Linked DNA regions of Homo sapiens: regions 1 and 2 are each linked to region 3. Evidence: promoter capture Hi-C in 16 types of primary human blood cells and fetal thymus (Javierre and others, 2016). All regions are on one chromosome and are shown on one strand. Each heading gives the region's core, a stretch centred on a gene start or on the middle of the fragment in contact. The rest is flanking DNA. Distances are from core to core; before and after follow the strand shown.

The links. Contacts are between HindIII fragments. The CHiCAGO score rates a contact against its expected background, and 5 or more counts as called.
Region 1: a contact is called between a fragment that was not itself captured here and the fragment with the promoter of GBP7 in region 3, in 3 of 17 cell types (activated CD4 T cells, total CD8 T cells and non-activated CD4 T cells). The highest score is 10.5, in activated CD4 T cells.
Region 2: a fragment that was not itself captured here is called in contact with the fragment with the promoter of GBP7 in region 3 in 6 of 17 cell types (activated CD4 T cells, M1 macrophages, total CD8 T cells and 3 more); the score reaches 8.3 in activated CD4 T cells.

The regions. Positions count from the first base shown.
Region 1 is chr1:89,445,807-89,449,687 of GRCh38, reverse strand. No RefSeq gene overlaps it. Among named protein-coding and RNA genes, the nearest start is that of LRRC8B, 77 kb to the left of the region's middle. The HindIII fragment of the contact is 2,890 bases long and covers 9-2,898 here.
Region 2 is chr1:89,464,416-89,468,729 of GRCh38, reverse strand. No RefSeq gene overlaps it. Among named protein-coding and RNA genes, the nearest start is that of LRRC8B, 58 kb to the left of the region's middle. The HindIII fragment of the contact is 960 bases long and covers 1,251-2,210 here.
Region 3 is chr1:89,174,532-89,178,476 of GRCh38, reverse strand. GBP7 (guanylate binding protein 7) reads left to right here and starts at 2,474. Exons shown (of 11, transcript NM_207398.3): 1 at 2,474-2,556. All of the region lies in intron 3 of LOC105378842 (a long non-coding RNA gene), which reads right to left. The HindIII fragment of the contact is 1,918 bases long and covers 2,103-3,945 here.

The DNA of each region.
Region 1 (3,881 bases), core at 204-2,703, 270 kb before region 3:
CTTAAGCTTTTTTTTCTAACATAAGCATTTGCCAGAAATTACCCAAGTTAACTTTTCACTTATGTTTGCAGTTTAAGTAAGGTTAAGGCTATTTTTAAGGCCCAGTTAATTTGTTTGCTCAGGGATTTTTCATGCTCAGTGTCCATTTTATTTTATTTTTTAAATTTATTTTTTAATTTTTGTAGGCATAGAACAGGTATGTATATTTATGGGGAACACGAGATACTTTGATACAAGCATGCAATGTGTAATAGTCACCTCTTGAAAAACTGGGTATCCATCTTCTCAAGCATTTATCATTTTTTTGTTTCAAACAATCCAATTACATTATTTTAGTTATTTTAAAATGTACAATTAATTATTGACTATAGTGCCTGTGCCTGTGGTGTATTACTCAAGAAATCTTTGCTCAGCCCAATGTCCTTCATAGTTTCCCCAGTGTTTTCTCTTAGTAGTTTTATAGTTTGAGGTTTTGAATTTAAATCTTAATCCATTTTGATCTGATTTTTATATAGAACAAGAGTAGGGGTCTAATTTCATTCTTCTGCATATGGATATCCAGTTTTTCCAAGACCATTTATTAAAGGGACTGTCCTTTCCCCAATGTATATTCTTGACACCTTTGCTGAAAATGGGTTCACTGGAGATGTATACACTTATTGCTAGGTTCTCTATTCTCTTCCATTGGTCTCTGTGTATGTTTTTATGCCAGTACCATGCTGTTTTGGTTATATAGCTCTGTAGTATAATTTGCAGTCAGGTAATGTGGTTCCTCCAGTTTTGTTCTTTTCACTCAGGATAGCTTGGTTTCTTTTGGATCTTTTGTTGTTTCATATAAATTTTAGGATTGTTTTTTCTATTTCTGTGAAGAATGTCCTTGATATTTTGATAGAGAGTCTATTGAATCTGTAAGTTTCTTTAGGGAGTATGGACAGTTGATTCTTCAAATCTGTGAACATGCAATATCTTTCTATTTTTTGAGTCCTCTTCAGTTTCTTGCATCAACGCTTTATGGTTTGTGTTGTAGAGATCTTTTACTTCTTTGATTAAGTTTATCCCTAGGTATATTATTTTATTTGTAGCTATTGTAAATGAAATTACTTTCTTAATTTCAGGTTTTTTGCTATTGGCACATACAAATGCTACAGATTTTTGTATGTTAATTTTGTGTTCTGCAAACTTATTAAATTTGTTTATTAGTTCTAAGAAAGTTTTTGTGGAGTCTTTAGGTTTTTCCAAATATAAGAGCATATCAATTGCAAACAAAAATAACTTGACTTCTTCCTTTTCAATTCAAATGCTCTTTTTTTCTTTGCTTATCTGAATGCTCTAGCTAGGACTTCCAGTACTATGTTGAATAACAGTGGTAAAAGTGGATATGCTTTTCCAGTTCCAGGTATTGGAGGATAGGCTTTCAGTTTTTCCTGTTCAGTATGATACTAACTGTAAGTCTGTCATATGTGGATTTTATTGTGTTATGTTCCATCTATACTCAGTTTTTTAAGATTTTTTTTATTGTGAAGGGAAGTTGAATTTCATCAAATGCTTTTTCAGCATCAATTGAAATGATTATTTGCTTTTTTCTTCATGTAATATATATGATGTTTCACATTGATTGATTTGCATATGTTGAAACATCCTTGCATCTCTGGGATAAATCCCACTTAGTCATGATAAATTATTTTTTTTGATATATTGTTGAATTTGGTTTACTAGTGTTTTGTTGAAGATTTTAGCATCAATTCATCAGGGTATTTAGAAAGTGACAGAGCAAGATGGCTGAATAAAACTCTCCACTGATTGTCCTCACTGCAGAAACAACCACATTTTAACAACTACACACAAAACCATCATCATAAGAACCAAATATCAGGTAAGCAATCACAATATCTGGTTTTAGCTTCATACCACTAAAAGAGGCACTGAAGAGGGTAGGAAAGACAGTCTTCAATCATCAGTCATCAATGCCTTACCTCCCCGATTCTGGAGAGAGAATCTGTGTATTTGGAAGAGGGCAAGCACAATGACTAAGGGACTTGGCATTGAACTCAGTGCTGCCTTGTCATAGTGGAAAGCAAAATCATGTTGAACTCAGCTGGTGGCTGCCCCATGGAGGGAGTATTTGGATAAACCCTATCCAGAGGGAAATTGCCCATCCCAGCAGTTGGAACTTTAGTTTCTTGGCAAGCCTCACCACTGTGGGCTAAAGGGCTCTGGGGTCCTAGGAAAACTTGAAAGGCAGTCTAGGACACAAGGGCTACAATTCCTAGGCAAGTCTTAGTGCTAGGCTGGGCTTAGAGCAGGTGGACTAGAGTGGCATGTGATCCAAGGAGATACCAGCCAGGCGGCTAAGGGAGTGCTTGTACCTCCCCTCCTCCATCCCCAGGAAGCTCAGCTCACAGCAATGAAAGTGACTCCTTCCTTCTCCTTGAGGAGAGGAGAGTGGAAAGTAAAGATGGCTTCATTTTGCATCTTCAATACCAGGTCAGCACAATAGGATAGGACACAAGCAGAGTCTTGACCCCTATATTTCAGGCCCTAGCTCCCATACTACGTTTCTAGATATACCCTGGACTAGAAGGGAAACTGCTTCCCTGAAGAGTATGACCCAGTCCTGGCAGGATTCATCACCTGCTGACTAAAGAGCCCTTGGGACCTCAATAACCAAGGGTGATACTCAGGTAGTATGTTATGGGCCTTGGATAAGACTGGAGATGTCCTGGTTTTAGGTGAGACATAGCATATTCCCAGCTGTGGTGGCTATGGTGAAAGACTCCTGCTTGAGAAAAGCAGGGGGAAAAGCAAAGAGGACTTTGTCTTGTACCTGAAGTACAGCTTGACCCCAGTGAGGCAGAGCACCTAGTGGGCTGTTGGGATCCCTGAGTCCAGGCCTAAGCTTTTGGACAGTATTTCTGGACCTGCCCTAGACCAGATGGGAGCCCATTGCACTGAAGGGTGATTCTCAGGCCTGGCATTCACTACAAGCTGACTGAATAGCCCTTGGACTTTAAGTGAATATTGGCAGTGGCCTGGAAGAACTCCCCATGGGCTGGTAGTGGTGGTGGCTATTGAGAGAGGCTCCTTTGCCTATGGAAAGGGAGGGAATAGTGGGAGGGATTTTGTCTTATGGGTTGAAGGCTAGCTTAGCCTCAGTAGAATAGAACACCAGGTGAATTTCTAAGATTTCTGATCCTAATCCCTGGCTCCCAGACAGCATCTCTGGACCCACCCAGGACCTGAGGGAACTTGTTGCCCTGAAAGGAAGAACAGAAATCAGACTGGCTTCACCACCTATTGACTGTAGAGCCCTAGGCCCTTAAGTGAACATAGATAGTCGCCAGGTAGTGGTTACAGTGGACCTTGGTCAAGACTCAGTGCTATTCTGGCTTCAGATCTGACTCAGTGCAATCCCTGTGGTGGTAGCTACGGTGGTAGTTGTGTCACCTCACCCCTAGCTCCAGGTGGCTCAGCACAGAGAAAGACATACTCCATTTGTTTGGGTGAAAGTAAGGGGAAAGAACAAGATTATATTCCTGGCAATCCAGATAGTTCTTCTGGATCTAATCCATGACCATCAAGATGGTACCTTGGAGTATTAAAAAATCACAGCATTATTGGGGCTGAGGCCCAAATTCCTTTGAGTACCGGAAAAGCCTTCCAAAGAAATATGGGCACAAATAAGCCCAGACTGTGAAGACTAAAATAAGTACCTAACTCTTCAAAGCCCAGACACTGACAAACATCCACAAGCATCAAGACCATCTAGGAAAACATGCCTCACCAAATGAACTATATAAGGCGCCAGGGACGAATCCTGGAGAAAGAGTTATATGACTGTGGAGACAGAGAATAAAAAATAACTGTTTTGAGAAAACTCAAAT
Region 2 (4,314 bases), core at 481-2,980, 290 kb before region 3:
AACTGTACTAACATATTCCAGCTAGAGTCAGCATGAGAAATAATCTGGAGACAATTTTTGAAGCTCCTCATTATTTCACAGATTCAGTTATTCCAGGTTAAACCATGCCTTTCATTTACTGAGTGTTCTAAATATTCTTCTTTGCTTTCTCAATATGGTAACAGAACACAGAGAAATGTACAATGTGAGTATTCTCTTTGTTTTTTAATGTCAATAACTTCTTTTAGAACTTGAAACAAACGTGTCTGTTTTGTCATTTATTAGTATTCAGTCCTAATTTATATTTATAATTCATAAAATGTTTTATTAGTCATTTCAGAATTTGATAAAAAAATAAACCTTTTAGGTATCACCATTATACTCATACAATCAGTAAGGAAGCATGCTCAGAGTTTAACCATTCAGCTAGTGCATGGTGGAAGTAGGACTTAAACTTTTGTCTTCCAACTTCAGGATGTGTGCATGGCAAGGGCTTCATCAGGAAAAAGCAACTTTGGGGATGTATATGAATTTAAATCATTCCTATTACCTTGAATAAGTTGAAATGATCCTGCATATTTCAAAATGTCTAATTAAAACACTTTAGAAACATCTTTTTTTTTTTTTTGAGGTGGAGTCTCGCTCTGTCACCCAAGCTGGAGTGCAGTGGCGCTATCTCGGCTCACTGCAAGCTCCGCCTCCTGGGTTCACGCCATTCTCCTGCCTCAGCCTCCCAAGTAGCTGGGACTACAGGCGCCCGCCACCACGCCCAGCTAATTTTTTTTGTATTTTTAGTAGAGACGGGGTTTCACCGTGTTAGCCAGGATGGTCTTGATCTCCTGACCTCATGATCCGCCCGCCTCGGCCTCCCAAAGTGCTGGGATTACAGGCGTGAGCCACCGCTCCCGGCCAGAAACATTTTTTAAATGTACCACCTGTGATTCTTCAGCAACATTTATGATTATTTTAAATACACAGGTTATTAATTCATAATCAAATTGAACTACAATGCTAGTATAAAAAATTGTCAACAAATAAATCTATCATTAAAGGAAATTTTTTTAAAGTTGTTCCTTTGGGGCTAGTTAATGTATAACATCTTGAAAGTAAAATTATTTTAATTCTAGCAAGCTAACAATACTATATCAGGTTAAGAAACTATTTTGACTACAATATTGTCTTTACTCATAAACACCTATCTTGGCATATAGAAAATTTCATTAAAAAGACTTTTTTTTTCCTTCAGCAATTGATAACCACAGTACAAAGCTTTCTTCCACTGTTATTTTAAAATATAAACCTGGCTTGTAGCCAACACCAACTAACTTGAGACAGAGCGGGAGGTTATTAATGTTAAGCAAATGGAGATTCAATCCTGATTTTCAGAATTTGTTTCTATAAAGCAGAGAATTACACTCAGTATGAAAGTACCATGCTGTTTTTTTTTTTTTCAACCAAGCAGAGGTATGCCCAGCATTTTAGAAACCACAAAATAAACACAGAGACTTTTGTACAAAATAAAGAAGGATATATCCATTTATCATTGCAAAGAAGGGTTCAAATATTTTTTAACTCTCATCATGACTTCTTGTAACACATGGGTCATTTAAAATATGTGTTTTTATTTCAAGCTCCTTTTCATTACTGATTTCTTAATTTATTGTGGCCAAATATATACTCTATATGACTTTGTCCCTTTGAAATTTGTTGAGAATTTATTTTGAGGCTCTGTTATTACATACATAACAATTTAGAGCCGGAGGAGAGAGGATCAAAAAACTACTTATCACGTACTATGCTTATCACCTGGGTGATGAAATAATCTGCACATAAAACCCCTGTGATAGGCAATTTACCACATAATAAAACTGCACATGTACCCCGAAACGTAAAATAAAAGTTAAAAAAAATTTAGAAATATTTTGTCTTTCTCTTGAATTAAAACATTTATTTCACAATGGCCATTTTTATCTCATTTCCCTTTTGCTTATCTTCTTCCCCTTCCTGCTTCTCCTTTTCTCCCCTCTCCTTCTTCTCCTCCCACATACCATACATACATTGTTCTAAACAAACCAAAAGAAGTTGCATTTTACTTACAACAAAAGTTAATCCAATTGCTCTGAAAGAAAATTTAATGATTTATAAAACCCAGGTCAGTCTCAAACAAAAAAGAACCCATGTTACATTTCCACGTGACTCCACACGATAGGGGCATTCAGGTAGTAGAAGCTTAGTGGTATGGCCGGTTTGCTATGGCACACAGCTCTTTCTTTGTGGTTGATGATGTGTCTACTAACCACATAATATCTTCATTACCAGTATCACAGAGGTATCACCAGGAAAACTACTTGTGTGACCTGTCCTAACACAATAATTTTTATTTTTAATTGTTCTGGATTTATCCTTCTCACAGAAGTTTCGATATTATACTGAACTTCATTCAGGACAAAAGGATGCTTCCCTAGCACAGCAGGGATGTGGTTTTGTGGTTTTAACATGAGTTGATGGACTGGCTATTATTCTAGATGCTGTTATCCATGATCAGGATTTGCTACAATTGTCATTCTGGACAGCTATTGATTAAAGCCTCTTTGCTTACCAAAAATAGAAAACACACGTTTATTGAGCCTTCATCCTGTGCCAGGCCTTATAGAAGTGTACATCACAGAGGTATTTAGTCCCCAATTTGTTTTGATAGTTCTGTCTAAACTTTTAAAGAAGAAGCCAATTTGGATAACACAAATGGTCATTGCTCAAGTAAAGCTGAAACACCCTGTCATTTGTATGTTCATAAACACTTGCAAAATACTTTCTATGAGTTCCCTAACCCTCAGGATGATGCCAGGGGCAGGTATTATAATTAAGAGCTTCTAGTAAAGGGAGTTGAAGTTTAAAGATATTAAGTGATTTTTCCGAGATCCCTTTAGTGGTGGTAGAGTAGGGTGCTGAGGCATACTGGAAAGGGCATGGCATCAGAGAGACCTGAATTCAACTTCCACCGTCTCTGTCATTTCCTGCGTTACCTTAGACAGGTTCCTGAAATATATCTGATCCTGTTTTTCATATTCCTTGGCTTTGACATGGGGTTCTTGATGGGTTTAAATTAACTAATGAGTGTGGAAGTGTCTGCAACCTGAAAAGTGTTGTCAGAGTGTGAGTCACTCTTATTTAATCTTTAGGTAAGTGATTACAGTGTCACAGACCACATTTCAAGTCAGACAGAACTAGTTGTAACTAGCATGTGCTGCATGAATTTGAGTGTGTTACTTGAGCTCTCTGGGTATGTGTCTCCTCAGCTGTAAAATATGTGTCATAATGCAACCTTGTGTATTGTGAATATTGACCAAAGCCACAGAAGTGAAGCTGTGGTGCACAGCTCACAGGAGGCACTTGGTGAATGTCAAGGCTTCTCTTTCTAGAATCAGCCCAGTGTCTGTATTGGGACAGCACCATCTCCTTAGGAGAGCACTGCCTGCATTAGTCTAGCACAGGAGATCTGTAATGGACTATGCGGGCCATTCCATGGATAAGTAATCTGACCTAGAGAGGTGAACTGACTTTTTCAGGTCATAGAGCTAATGGCAGAGTTGAGAGTTGAACTGCATTCTGATTTCAAATTCAGTAATTTTTTTTAACATTATTAACATTTTCAAAATTCAATAATACATTTTAAAAATTGTCCTTGCCCTGTAAAAGTGATTTGTATTAAGAACACATTCGTATATGTAGATAGCATTGCTAGTGCAGGTGAATCAAACCTGAATTGTTCTACATCACAAATAGCCAGTATAGAAGTTTAAGTGCAGAAAGATTTCTTTGTATATCTTGGGGTATTCTCTGTAACAGAACCACAGTGCTCCCTTGGAAACAAGGTGTCCACTTTTAATGTCTACATTTTACTTGATTTTAAATTCTCTATAGCTATTACTTCAGAGACTTATACTTGTTGACAGCTATGTGTAGTGGAAAGAGCCTAGCACTGAGGCGGTCAAGAGATCTGGATTCTAGTTCTGGATTTGGCATTACTTAGCTATTGTTCGCTGTTGGAAATGTAACTACTACTCCTATGACAGCTTGAAATATCTTGAAGTGAATCTGAATGATTTCTAAGTGTATTAGTTTCCTGTTGCCACTGTAACAAATTACCACAAATTTAGTGGTTTAAAGAACACAATATAAACTCTTACAATTCTGGAGGGTGGTCAGAAGTCCAAAATGGGTCTCATGGGGCTAAAATCAAGGCATTGGATTCTTCTGGAGTCTCTAGGGAAAAATCAGTTTCCTCGCCGTTTTCAGCCCTTAGAGGCCCCTGCACTCCTTGGTCATGGCCCCTTC
Region 3 (3,945 bases), core at 1,225-3,724:
AAAAAAAAAAAAACACATTCTATTCTTCTTATACAATTTGCATGTAAAACTATTTTAGTAGTCTCAATTACATGTAATAATGGTGACTGTTAGTCATTTTAATTTTAATTTTAATGTCTTTTCTTATTCATGTTTTATAAAATAATTTTTTGAGAGAGACTGTCAGTCTGTCACCCAGGCTGAAGTGCAGTGGTGCTATCTCGGCTCACTGCAACCTCTGCCTCCCAGGTTCAAGCGATTCTCCTGCTTCAGCTTCCCTAGTAGCTGGGAGTACAGGCATGTACCACCACACCTGGCTAATTTTTTTGTATTTTTGCAGAGTCGGGGTTTCACTGTGTTGACCAGGCTGGTCTCAAGCTCCTGACCTCAAGTGATCCACCCACCTCAGTCTCCCAAAGTGCTGGGATTACAGGTGTGAGCCACCTCGCCCAGCATTTACACTGCACTATTTTTAGCTGGTTTATATATAACATGTTTCCCTAGGATCAATGCCATCCTGTTTTCCCATTAGAGAATTGACAACACAATTTGCTGGTACATCCTCAAATTTGCTATACCTTCCTTGTATTCTTCATCCTATGCTCACCTTGGAAATGTGGTAGCCATTTGCTTATCTAAAAGAATATTAAAATTTATCTCCCTTGGAAGAAATGGCTATAGACAGGATAGGCACCGGGCTTAAGCTCCCAAAGTGTCAGGAAGCCTGGGTCTCTGTCTTTCTGGATATTTCCATTTCAAAAGGCATGGAGCCCAGACTCTTGAAGACATCTCTGGGTTGTAAAGCTGGCACTGATATTTAGCCCCTAGAAAGCTCTATTTGTATTCAAAAGGTTAAAGAAAGGACTCTGGCCCACTTGTCTCTAAAGAAACACTCTAAAAACAAGCTGGGGTCTGGCATGGTGGCTCACACCTGTAATTCCAACACCTTGGGAGGCTGAGGCGGGTGGATCACCTGAGATTGGGAGTTCGACATCAGCCTGACCAACATAGAGAAACTCCATCTCTACTAAAAATACAAAATTAGCCGGGCTTGGTGGCTCATGCCTGTAATCCTAGCTACTCAGGAGGCTGAGACAGGAGAATCGCTTGAACCCAGGAGGTGGAGGTTGCAGTGAGCGAAGATTGTACCATTGCACTCCAGCCTGGGCAACAAGAGAGAAACTCTGTCTCAAAAAAAAAAAACACAAGTTGGGAAAGTGGGATCTTTTTTTCTTATAAATTTATGTACCCTTAAATTATACATGATTCACAAAGATTCAATTTTGCCTGGGGCTATTTTTTGTTTGCATGATATAAACAATAGATTTTATTACTTAGAAGCAGGTGATTTCCTAGCAATAGTTCTGTTTTGAAATAACCCTGCCTTACTTTCACTTTAAATCTCATCAATATTCACACACACACAGAGAAGTCTTACTCTCTGCTCTCCATTTCTCTCTCTCTCTTCCCCGCTTCCCACCTTCCTCTCTTTTAGAGACAATGTGCAGTAGAGAATCAATGTGGTTTTAACCAAATGGATTTTCAAGTTTGAATCTCGCTCAATTACTTGCTACCTTGGTGTGTAGCTCAATGGCTTTAGTTAGACATATTAATTACCCGTTTTCTGATTATTTTTCCCCCTTGGACAATGGGGATAATAAACAACCTTTATCTTGAGGTATTTTGATATTTAAAATGGTATGTGTAAAGAATATGGCCTAGAATGGAACTGATAAGGAGAAAACATTGTTATTGTACACTCAGCAAACACAGAGGTATTTTAATGAAGTGACTGACAGCAAGACTTCTTGGGCCCAAATCTTATTTAGTAGCTCTGTAATTGTAATAAATTATTAAATCCCTCTTTTAACATTGTGGTAAAAGTATTTGTGATAAGAATACAATGGGATAATCTATGTAAACAAAACGGGTACTATCTTCATTATTATTTATTAAATGTTAAGTGCCAAGACCTGAGTTAGGTGCTAATAATTCAAACATGTATAAGACGTGGACATTCCTTCAGGGCATTTAGAGTCCTCATTATTAAACACAAATAATGAGTTCCATTTTAAGAGTCTAATATTCAAGCCAATTGAACCTAAATAATATTATATTAAGCTTTCTTATTCCTGTACTTCTCAATGTGGCCCACAAACATGAGATGAATGTCATTATTTTAAACGATTCATTGAAGTTTTTTTAATAATCGCAAGCTGTCTCTAAGATCTCTTCCAATAATAAAATTGGAAGATTCTGTTTGAGAAATTATGTCAAATCCTCTCACTAGCACAGCTGTCAGCAATTTCTTTTATTGTTGCTAAATCATGGACTGTCATATTACTCTATTTATTTGCAGAGGTTGCATTGTTTTTTACATGTATAAATACAGGTCTCTAGAAAGTCTGGAAAGCCCCATGACATTGGAGAGGTAAGGTAAAAGTCCAAAGTTCCAGCAAGAAAAAAAGTGGGAGAAATCAGTGCAGCCAAATTCAGAACTAAAGAGAAGAGAATAAAGACTCATAACTTTCTCATTGAAGCTGCCTTCTTACCAAGTCCAGAGGATCTCTACTCTGGGTAAGACTATGACTTATAAGGATTTCATGATTTATAAGGATCCATTAGTTTTCTCTAAGTTGACCATCCCCAAGATAGGCTGCAGCTGAGCCAGCTACAGGATACAAGTCCAGATGAAATCCTGGCCTCTTAGGTGGCTGTGTGTACCTTAGTGTGCTCTAATTCCTGCTGTGTCAGATTAGGCTTCAGCAGAGGTGGAACAGATATTCAGAGAAGCCAGTGTTCTAAGATTGTTATTTCTTTTCTGACACCATCTTAAATTACTGTTATCTTTAAATATCTGCCTAATAGGCTCTGTCACTTTCTTTATTGGGCCCAACATTTATAGCTCTAGGTAAATGAAGGTAGGCAACTTGGGATCTGCAAAAAGAGGCAACACATTATTATAATCCAGGACCTTATAACATCTTTGTGCCACCACCTTTCTGAGCCGGTGACTGATTGATTCCTATGTTATGGTAGCATAGTATATGCTACAGAATTGGACAGACGCATACTCTGTTTTCACTCATCTTCCATAGATACCCAATCTTTTTAGTTTCTGGTTTGCCCTTCTTGCTTGCCAGCAGATCCTGTAGGCCATTGCTATAAGAGGAAATGGGTCATGATCACAGAAAAATAAACGGCTTTTTTTCCATCTTCTGCTGAAGTGATGGGAAGCCAGATAATTTAATATAAACCTCCAGAGGAACAAGTCAGAAGTAACCAACTCTATAGTGGAAACAAACCACTCTTTATTATAGGATAAAAAAGAAAACTGCAGTATCTATCATCTATATTTGCTTGTATCTTAAAGAGATTATATATTTTGTATCATGATCACATAAGTTACAAGGATTGAGACATTCAACTTAAAAACACAAAATTAAAGCATCACTACAAGAAGGCTTTTCACTCCTTTTAACTTTACAAAATTATCAAAATATTTAATTTATCAAGCCCTGGATAAAGATAGCATGATTACAATTGTGCATATGCTACTCTCTATACAGCAGAGATCAGACAAAAAACAAGCCATGGTTTTTCAAAGAATGTTTCATGCTGTGACTTCATTACATGAAATAATTAAAAACAATATGCAGACTGATATACATGGAGGTAATAAAGAATCAATCTTCAAATGCAGAGAATTCAAAATCTGTTAACATAATCAAGTCAAAAATCAACAGAGTAAGTGTCAGGTGCGAGCTATCAGGCTTGCATGAATAACGTGTGAATGCTGATGCACAGTGAGAGGAGGAAGCCATTGGGTAACCTGAGTCCCACAGTCTGACCAGACCCTGCCCACAGAGGGGCTTGCAAGAAATCAGGACCAAGAATGGGTTAGAATGGTATCTATGTTTCAAAGTATAGAGATATGTATAACACAATGTTTCCCAGGTGAAGATT